3 separate regions of the Homo sapiens genome follow, and all the other regions are linked to region 3. The links are contacts of gene promoters, found by promoter capture Hi-C in blood cells and fetal thymus (Javierre and others, 2016). All regions are on one chromosome and are shown on one strand. Each heading gives the region's core, a stretch centred on a gene start or on the middle of the fragment in contact. The rest is flanking DNA. Distances are from core to core; before and after follow the strand shown.

Region 1 (2,700 bases), core at 85-2,584, 280 kb after region 3:
GATAAAAGCTCTTTTTTCTGCCCCTGGCTAATAGTTATCTAATATACTCGACTCCTTTAGTTCTTTGAACCTTACGTTTTGGAGGTCATAGAAGTTACAGAGGGCAGGAGTCAGAGGCACGGGCCGGGCCCTGTTCTGTGCTTGACCACCTTGCTGCTGTGGTAGGGCATTCACCACTCTTCCCATCTCTCCTGGTCCTTGGCCCTTCATCGCTGGAGGTGGAGTTGTTACAGAGGCCAAATATGGGGAGAAACCGTTTACATTCGGTTTTCTGGGGAGCCAAAATGAAAGACCCCAGTGGAGTGGAGCAATGAGTTTACACCTTTAGTAGACTGGAAAGAAACTAAAAAGGGAGATGTCTCCTCAGTGCACTGGAAGAGGGTGAAGGGCGATGCAATCTTGGGAAAGCTGGGGGCTGGGGTGGGTGAACTGCATTGGATGGTCCGTGTCGGGCAGAATCATCGGCATGCTCAGCCCACCATTGTCCCAAGCCAAGCCAGTTGGTACTGGTGCAGAGAAGTAGCTTCAGCTTCTGGTCTCAAAGCCATCCTCTGAAGGATGCCACCACCTCTCAAGCCCTTTTAGAAATGGAGATGGACTGGTGGTGGCATGGGAGGGCAGACCTAAGTCTGGTATGTCAGTGGAGCCAGACAGAAGGGCAGGCAACTCTAGTTACATTAAAATAGCAATGTATTGTTGACGGGTTGGAATTGCACACTTACAATCACACTATTCTATCTATAGTATTATCCCATTTAATGATAAATATGTATTTGTATATATGTATATCCGAAAAGATCTGGAAGGTTATTTCTGCAGCTTTAAAAAGAAATTGTCTTTGGGTGGAATTATTAGCACTTTTGATGTTCCTCTATTTTTTTTTGTATTTGTACTATGTATCTGCATAACTTTCTGGTTAAATGAGTTTATGTTTACAATTTAAATAAAAAGAGAAGGAGCATCATTTGGCTGCACCTCCCTCAACTTCAGATGTAACTTGTGGGGGTGGAGGACAGGGCAGGGAGGCCAGCTGGGGTGTTCCTCCTAGAGTTGGCGTTGATGGTAGGGCCTCACTCTGTTCCCTACACAGGTTGGTCACTGCCCAGCCTCTAAGATGCGAAGCTCTCTCCAGACCCTCTGGCCCCCTTACTCTAAGGTTCTAATGTTATTTCTGTTTCAATATGGGGAAGAGAAACAAAAACAGATGCTGCCTATCTCGATCAGGGAAAGGCAAGAGGGTGTCTTTCTTCCATCTGGGTTTTCTCTGTGACTGTTAACTGGATGCTTACAATGCATGGGGCAGGGTAACCTCCTGCCACTTATAGTGGTGGGGGTTGATGTCAGTGACTTAAGAAAATTAGGGAATAAATGTTTCAGTTATTTTCTCCAGTAACAGAAGGAGGGAGGAGTTGAGGCAGGTATGGTGGCTCCAAAAGGTTACTGGTGTCAACCCCTCCTGTGTATGCCTGCCACTCCTGTGGGTGGCTGTCAGCACTGAGCTCACAAGATGACTGCTGGACCATCCCTGCTGTGGCCGTGTCCCTGTTTCAGTCAGGATCGGACAGGGACAGGGGCAGATGCACCTCCCAAAAGGCCTCATCCCCAGGCTCGCCGGCATATTTAGTGACATTAATCTGTGCAAGAGGCTTGGAATGCAGTTTTTTGTTGTTGTTTCTTTTTAAACAAACATACTGTCCAAAGTTCTCTCACTAAGGAAGGAGGAAGAATAGACTTTGAGCAGGCAACAAGTACTGTCACATAGTCCAAAAGCTCTGATTCTCACAGAAAAGTCCATAATCTTTAAGTGCTGCAGAGATTTCAGGATCAAGGTAAATTTGTAAAAAGTTGGGAAACCAAAGGTATTATACAGTCCCATGGGAAGAGTTTGCTCAACAAGACGGTTCTTTTGCTGTAGTTGGTGAGCCAGGTTCTTGCTCCACGTTCACCCTCAGGGCTTGGTGGGGTTGGGGTTAGCCTGCTCTGCAGCTAGGCTGGCACCTGTCAGTACCTGGGTGATTGTTCCAACACAGACGGTACGTAGGAAGCTGGCACAAGAGCTGACGGTTCTTGTTTGTCATCCCCTATATTTCCTTGTGTCCCCACTCAGTTGGGCCTGCCTGCATTCTTTTGACAGTCGCTAAAGTCACAGACATACTTGACCTTGCAGTTTTTAGAGGGGACCTGTCACCTTTCAATAAACAAGAGGGAAGATCTTTGAGCAGTGAGTTCCAGAGACCCTGTTAAAAAGAAAAACCTTAGACAAGTTTAGCAGAGTTTAAGTGAGAAAAAAACAAAAACTCAGAAAACAAAAACACATGACATGTGAATCAGGCAGCCCTCTGATTCAGAACGGGTTCTAAGAACATGGTCAACAATGTGATCAAGTGTTATGGATGCACGGAAAACAGAAGTGAGGTACATATAGGGCTTAACTGGTTCCGGCTCAGCGTTTGCCTTATTTGATCGTTGGCAGCCAGGGATTGAAGGAAGCTCAGTTGCCGTGATGGCGGAGACTCAGCTATTTTTTACAAAAGCATACTCCTAAATTTAGGCTTTCAATTAGATTAGTAAGCCAGGCTGCCTGCAGTTAGTTAAGTAAGGACTTGGGTGCAAAGGCTTCCTCAGGCCAAATTTAGGTTATTTTAACATCCCCAATGGCCAGAGACAGGCTTCTTGGAAGCCAACTGCTTGGAGTAAAAC
Region 2 (2,998 bases), core at 487-2,986, 340 kb before region 3:
GGAGACTGCCATTGAGATGCTTCCCAACACCTTTTTCATTCCAGTTGCATTCTGCCCTGGCTAAGCAAGACAAATTCCTGTCCCTTGTGCCGCCATGAGCTGCCCACTGATGACTACACTTATGAGGAACACAGACGAGATAAGGCTCGAAAACAGCAGCAGCAGCAGAACCGACTGGAGAACCTCCATGGAGCCATGTACACGTGAGGAGGCTGGGGCTGAGCGCCGGTCCTCTGTGTCTTCCCTACAAACCTTGAATCCTCATTAAAATTTCTTTACCCGTCCCCCGCCCCGCCCCAGAAAAAAAGGCCGGGCGCAGTGGCTCACACCTGTAATCCCAGCACTTTGGTACGCCAAGGCGGGCAGTTCACCCGAGGCCGGGAGTTCGAGACCAGCCTGACTAACATGGAGAAACATCGTCTCTACTAAAAATACAAAATTAGACGGGCGTGGTGGTGCATGCCTGTAATCCCAGCTACTTGGGAGGCTGAGGCAGGCGAATCGCTTGAACCTGGGAGGCGGAGGTTGCTGCGAGCAGAGATAACGCCATTGCACCCCAGCCTGAGCAAAAAAAAAACAAACACACATGTACACTATAAATATATACGATTATGTTCCCATAATAGGTAATTTAAAAAATAGTATCCTTGTTTTTTTTTTTTTTTTTAAATGAGACGGAGTCTTGCTCTGTCGTCCAGGCTAGAGTGCAGTGGTGCGGTCTCTGCTCACTGCACGCTCCACCTCCCGGGTTCACGCCATTCTCCTGCCTCAGCCTCCTGAGTAGCTGGGACTACAGGCGCCCACCACCACGCCTGGCTAATTTTTTGTATTTTTAGTAGAGACGGGGTTTCACCATGTTAGCCAGGATGGTCTCGATCTCCTGACCTCGTAATCTGCCTGCCTCGGCCTCCCAAAGTGCTGGGATTACAGGCGTGAGCCACAGCGCCCAGCCATCCTTGTTTTATGCTTGCAATAGTAATTTGTAGCTCGATTATATATCTCTGTGCACATGTATTTGATTTTTCTTCTCACCGTGTGGTTTCTTTTTCCTCTGAGGGTTGCTTTCCCCCCCCCTTGTTTGTTATGGTCTCTATGGTACTCCTTCCGTGTTAGTTTGTTTAAGAGGCTGTCAAGTCCACAGGTCCTCTACACAACCCTTGCTGCTAGGTAGCTCCCTTTCCTCCTCCCTGGTAAAAGACAGGGTTTTGGGCGAAACACATGTTAGATGCTCTGTTCTCTTCATTCAGCTCCCAGAACGCTTATAACCACCTCTACACCCTCTAGGCAGGAAATCAGAAGCTCATCTCTAGGGACTCTGACCAACGTTAAAAGAAATATCTAAAGATACTGACATTCATTGGAAACCCCCAACTAAATATTCGAACCAAATAACCCTGCACCGAAGCTCCTAGTCAACAAGCCCCCCACACTCTCAGAACATCTGGATATTGCCTAAAATATAAATTTAAATTATTCATATTGAATTTAAGGCGTTGGGAGAGGGATATCTTAAAGTTCCATCATTAAGAGCTTCAATAAAGTGGAGGGGACTTTTACCGCGGTGGAGTGAGCGAATCCCTTCTCTGGAGCTCCATAGGGGAGGGTGCCCGCTTCCTGAGTGGCCGTTCCGACCTCCGGTCAGGAGGGGGAGGAACAGAGCACGGCCGGCGGCTGCACGGGCAGGGCCTCTCTGGGCTGAGAGGAAGAAACCAGTGAGACATCGAGAGGAAGTCGCTGTGGCACTCAGTCCTACGGCCTCCGAGGCTGGGTAGTGAGTGTGTCGCTGGCCTTAGCCAGACTCCACAGGCCACGCTGGCTGCGAATGGAGCCGAGGACTCGCGCGGAGGCGAGATGCTACCAGCCGGCGAGATCGGCGCCTCTCCTGCAGCCCCGGTGAGACGGCCCTGGCGTCCCTGGGAGGGGACATTGGTGGCCCATTGAGGTGGCACAGACCTCCCGGGGGAGATAGTCCCGGTGCGGTGGCCCTGTAAGCTTGTGAAGGTGCTTCCTGCGGCTTAGATTAGAGGCCCTTGTAAGACCTCCTAGAGGAGGCGGTAGTCCCCGTGAAGTGGCTTTGGCGGCCCTGGTGAGATGACAGATTTCTCTAGGGAGGTGGCTCTAGTGAGCAGGCAAGGTAACTCCAGGTCCTGCGGAGGTGACACACACCTCCTGGGAAGGTGGCGGTGGCACCAGGACAGTGGCACTTTGAGGTACCTGATTCGGACGGCCCTGGTCGCTCAGAAAGTGGGAGAGCGTCTGGAACCTCTCTTGCCTCCAGTGGGTGCCCTTTGGGAGCCCCGTATGCTTTCCATCCACGACTTTAATCTTAATGTGCTTGTCACATCTGTTCTTCTTCTAGTGCTGCTCTGAAAGTGGTGACGAAAGGAAGAACCTCGAGGAGAAAAGTAAGCCAGCTCCAAACACCTTAGCTTTTTCTTCCCGCCCAAACTCAGCCTTCCAGGGTCTGCAATATAGAAAGGTTCTTTGCCTATCTTTTAGATGCAGTACCGTTTTCTGCACAATATGCTTATATGGTAATACTGATGACCATGATACACATATTTTTGTCTTTCTAAAATTGTAAAATATGGGATGCTTTGGAGAAGAGCACTTCCCGATCCATACCTAGTACAGGGACTAGAGTGTTTTCGCTGGAAGTCTGCCTATCATACAGTACTCAGAATAATTGGGGCCTGCCTGTCATTTTAATGAAACATCAACTTACTAAGCATCAGGAATTTGGAGGGGCCCATGATCTAGGACAGACGACCACCACCCTAATTGGGTTCAAAGGAGGCAAATGACAGTTGTTTAGTTCACCTTCAGTAAATTGGCAATTTAAAATTGCTCTGGCAAGAGCACAACGGATAACTTGGGTTCTGGATCTTGGACTGGACAGGAAAGGGGGAAAAGGTCAGTACCACCATTTCCTCCCTAGTACGGGAGTATATGTCAGGGTTGTGGACTTTTGCCATTTTACTTTGATGGCAGGTTATTG
Region 3 (2,700 bases), core at 75-2,574:
ACAGATGCTCCTAACCCTGCTTGCCACATAACAATCTGTGACCAAATGCAAAGTGGGCCAAATGTAACTTGCTGCAAAGGTTTGCCATGTACAATGGTTTTCAGTGGTGAGTGGAGAAGTAGCTGCTGGAATGACTGACCATGTGGGGTTCATTAAGCTGTTGTGCATTCACCCACGAGAAAGGCTGGGATGCTTGTGAAGGGAACTCCACTCTTCATTTCAGAAATTTTAACGCCCCACCATTTGGCAATGATGCTCCCAAGGAGAATGGCAGATATGCATCAGAAGGTTCAAACGTGGAGTCCAACTGAAGTGCAGTAAACTTCTGCCTTCAACAGTCTCACCCCCCTTTACCCCCCCCCCAGTTGTATTTATACTTTGAAAGAAGTTAACATGAAGCAGTAGTCACCTGGGCGTGCTCAATTTTTGACAAGCCTTAGTCACTCTGTACCCAGCAGAACAATTCACATTATATTCGAAATCCTGTGAAGATTCTGCCACACATGCTAACACTAAAATGCCAGTAGCTCCACTTACCTTCTTTATTAAGCCTCATAACCTCCCTGCTTTTTCCACCCTCTTTTCCAGCCTCTTCTAAATCTACATCTGCAGATGAAAAAGAAAAGGAAAACAGAAAATAAGGAAAAAAGGGGGGAAAAAAGCCAAAGTCAAGGGGGGAGGGAGAGTGTTTATTTGCAAACAGATCGATATAAATACTGTATATGAAATTCTTTCAAAAATTGACAATGCAACATTTTCTCCCAAGTCTGGGTTTCCATCTACCTGGCCCAGATAGGTACCCAAAAAACTATGCAAGCAGCAACAAAGTAGCCTTTTAAACGGACAACACCGTGGGGCTGCGAGCCCACCCCGCGGGCTGCCACGGGGAGCCGGGCACAGACAGACAGACAGCCCTGGCAGCCGGGCCTCTCCCTGTGCATTGATGATCTGTCTCTGTGTGTATTTATTTAGAGAGAGAGGGAGAAGCATGGAGGACACCGGGGGCCACTCTCTCTCTCACACACACACTTTTTCCCAGTGGCTCTAGGTGAATGGAAAGGTTACAGGATAATAAAAGGAGGAGGAGGTGGTGGGGTTCTTACTGTCGGAGCAGTGTAATTTGGCGGCGTCGATCCAGGAGGACCAGGGTTTGCCCAGAAACGCCTCCGGACTGGGCACTTTGCGATCCAGTGTCGCCATTGCTCTTCCTTCTTGTTGCTTTTTCCCTGTTCCTTCGGCAGCAGCAGCCGAGAGACACGGGATTCGAGAACGCTCCGACGTCATCTTCGGAACGTTCCGACATTGAGTGTTCTGAAAGGGGGAGGGAGGGAGGAAGGGCGGGATGGGAGGAGGGCGGCGGAGGAGGAGGGGAGAGGGAGCGGAGGAGGGGCGGGCGCTCGGGCTCCCGGAGCCGGCTCGGTGGGGCTCGCGCGCCCGCGGCCGCCAGGGGCAGCAGAGAGGCACCTGCAGTCCGCGCCCGCCCGCCCGCCGGGGCCGCCCGCCTGCCGGGGAGGGGCAGCGCGGACGGGCGAGCGCCGCGTGCGGGAGAGCGAAGGCTGCAGCGCGCCCGGCAGCCGGGATGCAGCGGCGCCGCCCAAGCCTGGGGCGCAGGGGTCGGGGCACACGGGGATAGGCCCGACGCGGGGCCGAAGGAAGGGTGGTCTTTCCCGCAGAGTTGCCGCTGGAGGACCGAAAGTTTTGCAGGCAGCCCTTGCTTCCAGCTTGTCGCTCTCTCCCCGCGTCCCTGTCGCCCAACGCGAGGCGCCCCCGCTGGGGTCCCGACGGCTTGGTGGGGAGGAGCCGTGAGGGGTTGCGCCCCCCACCCCCACCCGAGCCAGGGAAGGGACCCTGGTGACCTCGCCTCCCAGCCCTCACCCCCGTCACCCCTTTCTTCTCTTTCCTGGAGGACTTTGGACCATGGAGATTCTGCAGTTGTTGCTCTAGGAGCTGAAACCAGTGGGTAGATGTCGTTCTGAAACGCAGGTGAGTTTGGAGCGCTACGAGCTACCTTCCCATCTCAGGCTGCGGGGCGTGCAAAACTCAAAAGTTAGGGCCCCCGGACCCCCGGGTTCCCCGCGCGGTGCGTATCTCCGGCTCTCAGAGAACCACTGCATGGACTTTGCTCCAGGGTCAGCAGAGCGGGAGGGCGAATTTACGGCTCTTGGAAGACGACGCTAACGGGCCTAGCCCCTGAGCCGTTTCCAGCGCTCCCTGCCGTGAGACGAGGGTGGCCCGGGTTTGCGCAGGCAACCTTTGGCCAGGAATCTGATTCCTGGGAGAATTCACTTCAGGCTTAACTGCTCTAGCCAGCTAGAAAGGGAGCGCTAGATTTCCTCTGGATTTTGGACGTTGGGTGCTTTAGTTGAGATTTTCACCCTTTAAAGAAGGCTTTAAAAAGTCTTCTGTTACTTCTTTTTAACAAATCCTTTTGTTTACTAGAATTATCTAAACTATATGGACACCGCCCTCACCCCACAAGCGACATATTTTTTTTTCTCTTTCGCCAGCACCCTTTTAGCTCTCACCACTGCTGTTTCCCAAGTTGTCACAGCTGAAGCGCACTGATTGGAAGTTGCTTTGTACTGACTGAGTTCTGCCCTGGCTGAACCATCTAATAATTTCCCTGAGCTTGGCACCCTGTATCGCTAAGCCAGTGTTAGGATGGGCGATGAAGGAGGAGCTGCGGATTTGCCTTTAGTT

The links. Contacts are between HindIII fragments. The CHiCAGO score rates a contact against its expected background, and 5 or more counts as called.
Region 1: a contact is called between a fragment that was not itself captured here and the fragment with the promoter of ATXN7L1 in region 3, in 1 of 17 cell types (naive CD4 T cells). The highest score is 5.4, in naive CD4 T cells.
Region 2: the fragment with the promoter of RINT1 here is called in contact with the fragment with the promoter of ATXN7L1 in region 3 in 3 of 17 cell types (monocytes, naive CD4 T cells and total B cells); the score reaches 9.0 in monocytes.

Annotation. Positions count from the first base shown.
Region 1 is chr7:106,150,445-106,153,144 of GRCh38, forward strand. No RefSeq gene overlaps it. Among named protein-coding and RNA genes, the nearest start is that of SYPL1, 39 kb to the left of the region's middle. The HindIII fragment of the contact is 4,604 bases long and covers 1-2,700 here.
Region 2 is chr7:105,530,465-105,533,462 of GRCh38, forward strand. It overlaps RINT1 (RAD50 interactor 1), which reads left to right and starts at 1,737. Exons shown (of 15, transcript NM_021930.6): 1 at 1,737-1,893; 2 at 2,360-2,405. The coding sequence starts at 1,852. It also overlaps the pseudogene LOC100131785. RefSeq lists enhancers at 1,018-1,067, 1,355-1,932, 1,518-1,817, 1,908-2,087, 1,933-2,509. The HindIII fragment of the contact is 4,822 bases long and covers 1-1,990 here.
Region 3 is chr7:105,875,275-105,877,974 of GRCh38, forward strand. It overlaps ATXN7L1 (ataxin 7 like 1), which reads right to left and starts at 1,325. Exons shown (of 12, transcript NM_020725.2): 1 at 1,104-1,325; 2 at 538-606. The coding sequence starts at 1,284. RefSeq lists a silencer at 1,368-1,577. The HindIII fragment of the contact is 13,815 bases long and covers 1-2,700 here.